2 separate regions of the Homo sapiens genome follow, and region 1 is linked to region 2. Evidence: promoter capture Hi-C in 16 types of primary human blood cells and fetal thymus (Javierre and others, 2016). All regions are on one chromosome and are shown on one strand. Each heading gives the region's core, a stretch centred on a gene start or on the middle of the fragment in contact. The rest is flanking DNA. Distances are from core to core; before and after follow the strand shown.

What was found. The method cuts DNA at HindIII sites, captures the fragments that hold promoters and counts their contacts. A CHiCAGO score of 5 or more calls a contact.
Region 1: a contact is called between a fragment that was not itself captured here and the fragment with the promoter of SLU7 in region 2, in 1 of 17 cell types (M0 macrophages). The highest score is 5.1, in M0 macrophages.

What each region holds. Positions count from the first base shown.
Region 1 is chr5:163,372,169-163,375,527 of GRCh38, reverse strand. The region is part of intron 1 of LOC105377700 (a long non-coding RNA gene); the gene reads left to right. Among named protein-coding and RNA genes, the nearest start is that of CCNG1, 64 kb to the left of the region's middle. RefSeq lists an enhancer at 1,659-2,160. The HindIII fragment of the contact is 6,750 bases long and covers 1-3,359 here.
Region 2 is chr5:160,417,220-160,420,720 of GRCh38, reverse strand. It overlaps SLU7 (spliceosome associated SLU7), which reads left to right and starts at 1,640. Exons shown (of 16, transcript NM_006425.5): 1 at 1,640-1,698. RefSeq lists enhancers at 1,229-1,298, 1,309-1,428, 1,879-1,928. The HindIII fragment of the contact is 5,685 bases long and covers 1-3,501 here.

The sequences.
Region 1 (3,359 bases), core at 214-2,713, 3.0 Mb before region 2:
AAGAGTAGAAAACCTCCAAATTGTTTCTTTTAATTTATTCAGTACCAGTTATCTGTTTTGGAGAATCTTTGAGATGTAACAGGGTAAGCAGTCTATTCACTGTAGTAAATTAAGCTGTTATCTGGTGACCTGAGCCATGCAGATAATCAGAATTAGATAACTATTAGCAGGTAAGAATTTCCAGGGATTATAGGTTCACTCTGACTGGAATACAATATATTGAAGCAGTTTTCTCATATGCTATTGTTCATGGAATTAATTGGTTTTGAGTATTTCTGACCTTGTATAATTGCTGTGGTCAAATATTAAATATAGTCATTATTACAGGTAATGAAGCTGTTTTTAAAAATTATTTTGAAAATGAATACTTACATATTCAAAGGATTATTATGGCCATAAAAAGCTATTCCCTTATCTAATAATCTGTCATTAAGTGAAACAGCTCTAGAAATGTGTTGGAAAAGATTTGGTGATCCAATAATTTAACTTCCTTAGTTAACCTATAAGGAAAACAAGGTATGCAGAGACACAGATCTCTGCACACAAGATCACCCAGAATGATAATTCAAACCCAGTTCTTCTCTTCTGAAATTGCCTTCAATAACACACAGGAAAACTGCTTATTATAGTAGAGACAGGCATTGTTTTTGACCAAAATAGAGTAACACATTTTAATCACCACCTAACTCATGAGACATGCTTCCAAATTATTTGAGGCTTAAATTATTTGTTATTATGGAAATTTTCAAACATTACAGAAGTAGAGAGAAAAAGAAAGTGAACCTTAATATACATATTTTGCAGTTTCCACATTATAAATATTTTGTTCACTTTATTTTTCATCTCCACTACAACTACCATTGCTACTATTGCTGGTGGTAGTGTTAAATTTTGCTGGTATATTTTATATTTTAGAGTCCTTAATATCATGTCATCTAACTTATGTTACTAGTTTATTATGCATCCCTGACTTATAAGGACATTTTAAAAAACAAAATCACACTGCTGTTATCGTACTAACGAAATGAACAATACTTTCTTAACATTATTTTATACCCAGTTCATATTCCATTTCCTTGATTACTTCAAAAAGACTTTTTTAAAGTTAGTTTGTTTGAATCAGTGTCCAAACAAGGTGTTCACGTTGCATTTGGCATTTATATTCTTAACCCTTTTAATCTATAATAGTCTCTTTTAATTTTGTCATCTTTTCTCATTTATTTTGTCAATATTATTGATTGAGAAATCTATTGTAAATATTTATAAGGTACAGTGTGATGTTATGATATCTGTATGCAATGTGGCATGATTAAATCAAGCTAATCAACATATTCTTCACCTTGTTTACCTATCTTTTTTATGGTGAGACATTTGAAATGTACTCTCTTAGTAATTTTGAAATATATAATACATTATTATTGACTATAGTTACTCTGCTGTGCAGCAGATCTCGCAACCTATTTCTCCTCCCTATCTAAAACTTTGTACCCTTTGATCAACAGTTCTCCATTTGCTCCCTCACTGACTTGTTACACCCCCTTCCCCTGCCCCCTTTCACCCTCTGCCAGCCTCTGGTAAGCATCATTCTACTCTGTGCTTCTATGAGTTCAGCTTTTTAAGATTCTCCATCTAAGTTGATCATGTGATATTTGTTTTCTGTGCCTCGCTTATCTCACTTAGCTTAATGTCCCCTGGATTCATTCATGTTGTCACAGATGACAGAATTTTCTTTTTTTAAGGCTGAACAGTATTCCATTGTGTACATATGCCAGATTTTCTGTATCCATTCATTTGTTATTGGACACTTAGGTTGATTCCCTGTCTTGGCTATTGTGAGTAATGTGTTTGACTGTTTTGCATGTCTTTTGTTTCTTTCTTCTTCTCTTGCTGTCTTTCTTTGTGGTTTTGTGACAGGGCAGGTCTCACTATAACACAGAACTCCATAACAACTGTTTTACTACTGACTGAGTGCTTAAGTTAAATATTAAAAGCTGAAAGGGACAGTGCCCTTATACAAAGGCTGGAATGTAATAAAAGCTCATTAAGAGTTTTGCCTAGGCCTTTTCTGGGTCTTAAAGGATGTAAAAATAAAGCAATTCTTAACAGGATCTGTTTAAGATTAAACAAGTTTTATTGGGAGTCTGTAGAAACTCCCCAAACCTCCATGATTTAGCAGGAGACAAGATAAGGGTAATCACTTCAGCACTCGGACCCATTTAGTAAATACACTGAGTAAACTTACCCATCAGGAAATTTACTGAGGCTCCAGAGGAAGGTCTTCAGGACTCAGTTCTTAGTTGTAGATTAAAAGAAGTTAATCACTTATGTCTTTAGATGAATGCACACTTACACATCGACATATAGCTTAGAAGTTATATAAGCTCTGGAAGACTTTGTAATTTTGAGTTGGTCTGGTGATATTTTCCAGGCCTTGTCCCTATAACCAGTTACAGAAATGAAAACTCTCTTCCTCCCCAGTTCATCTGCATCTCATTATTGGGCCACGAGAAATAGAAGCCTGACCCTCAGTTTGGTTCCAGAACAGTTTTATGGTTTTCTGCGGTGGTATGCTTTCAATCCTTTCTTTTTGCATGTTGCAGAAATACTATAGGTTTTTGCTTTGTGGCTACCATGTTTATGTTTACATAAAACATCTTATCCTTCTAACATGCTACTTTAGGCTGATAATAACTTAACTTTACTCACATACAGAAACTCTACACTTACACGCTCCCTTCCCACTTTTTATAATTTTGATGTCAAGATTTACCTTTGTTTGGTAATTTGTATTCTTTAATAATTTATAATTATATATAATTTTATATATAATTATAATTTAATAATTTATTGTAGATACAGTTGTTTTTAATAGTTTTCTTTTAACCCACATAGTAGTGATACAAATGCTTTCCACATCACTGTAACAGTATTTGAGAATGCTGAGTATGACTATGTATTACTTGTATTATTGAGTTTTTTACTTTTGTGTGTCTTTTTGTTATTAATTAGCTTTTATTTCAGCCTAAAAATGAATTTTAGCAATTCCTATAGCATAGGCCTAATGCTGGTGAACTCTGTTAGGTTTTGTTTTCCTGGGAAAGTTTTTATTTCTCACTCATTTCTGAAGGACAGTTTTGCTGGTTAAAATATCCTTGATTGGCAGTTGTTTTCCCCAGCACTTTGAATATATCATTCTATTCTTCTCTGGCCTGCAAAGTTTCTGCTGAGAAATCTGCTGAAAGGTGTATTAGAGCTTTTTGAACATGATGTGCTTCTTATCTTTTGCTGCTTTCTGTATTCTTTGTCTTAAATTTTTAATAATTTTATTACAATGTGCTTTGGTGAACTCCTCTTAGGTT
Region 2 (3,501 bases), core at 391-2,890:
TAGGTTATAAGAAAAGAGCCTAACTTAAGGTGAAGAAAAGAGGAAAGACAGAAAAATATGCATACCTTTATTGTCCCTTCACTGTTCTTTTTCCTTTATCCCCATCCTTTATTTCCTCCTGTATCTCCTAAATTTTACATCATCATATTATATTATCAGCACTCAAAGTGTTAATTTTTAAGACTAAATCTGCACAACACCTATAGCTTCCAAGTGGGGATTCTCTATCTACAGAGGTTTTGAGGTGCAAGGTTTGTCTTAGGATGTCTTCTTTTTTTCACCAACAGAAAGCATTGTTTCTCCTAAGGTCATGCAGCAGCTGTAAACCATAACCACCCTCTCTGAATAACCACTGTTTTCTTACTAATGATGCCCTCAGACCAGCTTTGCTATTCCTATTACTGGAAATACTCAATTGCTAAACCACCCTCACTCATAACAGCACTTAGTCCCTAATCAGTTTCTCCCAATCCTTCTTTACAAACAGCAACCCATCCAGAACCAATCCCGGCTTTCCTAGACCTTCCTCAGAACCCTCCAGAGGGACCTCAAGTCTTAGAAAAGATTCAACTGTCTTGTCCTGCGCTTTCTGATTCCTCTTCGAGATGCGCTCTCCTGGTGGTTTTGGCTAATTAGGCCTTAACACTCCTAAGCAAATTTCAGGAATATTTTTAAGTGGAAAAAAACAAAGCCTGAGTGATTCATAGACTCTATTCACTTTCACGCTAGTCTCTGACACTGTTTCTTCATCTACTGCCCTGTAAAAGCAAAATTAATATTTATGTTCCTAAACTCCAGGTATTGCAAATTCTTAATACGAAAAAAATAGATTCTATTATGTTGGGCTATTTTATTGAGGCAGGAATGGTAGCTACTTTTACTTTTACATTCAAAAAGGATACACGTTATGGGGGGGAGGGGGAGAACAACCAGAATAGAAAGCACAAAGAAAAAAAAAAATCACAAGAAATTCTACCACGAAAATTAGTTTATTTTCCAGTGTTTTATTTCACATGTATACTTTTAAAGAAGGGATGGGATAGCATAGATACTGTTTCTCCAAAATGGAAATTGTCGTATTTTTTTCTAATGATAACATGCCTTATGTTCTCACAGCACCTGGTATTCTTTTCATAGCAACTTTTCACAGCTGCTAAATCTGAATAGTTGTTTCGGTGTCTTTCGCACTCTGATGTAAATCTGAGGGAAGACACTGTTCACCAAATCCCCAGCATGTTACACAGCCTGGCTACTAATTAGTGCCAAGTTTAACTGCTTTTTTTTTTTTTTTAAGCTGATACGTCACCAACTTCCCCATTCATTTCATAGTCCCCTGGTGAGGCTTAAGCTCTTGTCTGTTCTGGTCTTTTTTTTTTTTTTTTAACTTCCTAAAATTCTCCGATTCTAAAAGAAAGCTCCTAAATAGAAGCCAAAAAGTAGCCGCCCAACTTGAAACTCCCCACAAGCCGGGTAAATAGCGCGATACGCAGCAGCTAGAGTTCTCGCGTTTCCCACGGCGCAGGAGCACTGGAGGGCCCCCCTCCGCCCCCGGCCCCGCCAGGAAATTAGTGCGCATGTGCCGGTCATCCGGAAGTTACCGCAGTGGCCGCCGGAATTAGGCGAAAAGCCGGAAGTAAACATTACGAGATTGGCTTGGATTCTGTCGGATGGACTTGGGGCTAGCTGCGGCGGGGCTGGGTAAGAAAATATTGTTAGAACTTGCGGGCGACGGGGAGTTGGGGAACCTGAGAAAATGAGTCGAAGGCTCCTAATTATTGGATATATCTTCACGGGGGTGATGAGCCCTCAGGTGTTGAGGGAGCGAGGACGGGGGACCGAAAAGCCACTGTCCTGAGACCCATTCATGGCACTCGTGCCCTGCCAGGCCAGGCCTGCGTCTTCAGGGAAACAGTCGGGATAACTATGAGAGTGTCGCCTTTGTGGCGGTGCCTCGAAGACCTTGAGCAATCCCCGGACTGCGAGCAGGGAAAGCTGCTTCCAGTACCCAAATTGACAGACTGTATTTCCTCGCCAGAAAAATTTACTTGAGCTTCAGTTTTTCCTGTTAAGTCGAGATGATCCGACTTCAGTGGGGTATCATGCGGGTATAAATGAAAACATCTATGTAAGTAAAGCGCTAAACAGTGTCTTACGTAAGCCCTCAGTAAGTGGGAGCTATTACTGTTTTTAGTTGGAGAAAATAGGTCCCTCCACAGCGACGGAAACTAGTGCGTACAACTTGGTGACTATAATACTTTATTCAGTTTTAGTTTTTAATATTTTAGGCCCAGAAGCCAATGTTCTGTGGACAAGTATAACATACTGGTTTAGAGAACTGACTTTGGAGTCAGAGTTGTGTTTGAAGTCCTTATTTCTTACTACAATGTGTTCTTGGCTGAGGATCTTACCTCTCAGAACCTGTTTCTTCACTGTAAAATGGTGTTCATCAGACCTATCTACTGGGCTTATTGTGAAGATTAGATGAGGTGATACACGGTAGGCTCGAGAAATGGTAGCTGTTTTAATAAAGATTAAATTTACCGTTGTTGTGCTTCTCTTCGCAGTATATTTAGGCCATCAGTTTATATGTTACACAAATATATGTGGAGGTTTTCTATAGGTCAGACATAGAAGAGAACACCTTTGAGAAGCATCGTAGACCCCCAGGCATTGAGCACTTTCCACTGGGAAAGAGCTTGTGTAAAGGCCCAGTGTCTACAGGGAGCACGGTTTGTTAGAGGAACTAGAGGAACTACAAGAAGGTCTATGTAGTTAGTAGAGAAGGAAGCGGGGATAGTTGTAATGGTGAGGCTGGAAGGTAGGCAGGTGCCAGACCATGGTGGACCGTGTAGGTGTGTTAAAAAGATGTCAGTTTTTAGAGTACGAATGATAAAATCCTTTGGAGCGTCATTTTTTTTTTTTTTTTTTTGAGACGTAGTCTAGCTCTGTCGCCCAGGCTGGAGTGCAGTGACGCAATATCAGCTCACTGCAATATCGGCCTCCTGGGTTCAGGTGATTCTCCTGTCTCAGCCTCCCGAGTAGCTAGGATTACAGGTGCACGCCACCACGCCTGGCTGATTTTTTTGTATATGCTTAGTAGCGACGGGGTTTCGCCAGGTTGGCCAGGCTGGTCTCAAACTCCTTACCTCAGGTGATCCGCCCGCCTCGGCCTCCCAAAGTGCTGGGATTACAGGTGTGAACCATCGCACCCAGGTGTCACTATTCGTTATGATAGTTATTAGCCACTTGTGGTTATTGAGACTGGAAATGTGATTAGTTTAAATAAGTGTAAAACCCATATCAACTTTTAAAGACAGAGTTGTTTTTTTTCTAATTCAAATTTGCAATTATAATATGTTGGATATATTACATTAAATAAAATCTTGTAAAAGTAATTTTACCTGTTTATTTTTACTTTTTTAATGTGACTACTGGAAAACATAAAATTACATGTGGGACTAGCATTGTATTTCTCTTAGATGGTGCTGTATTGAATTTTTG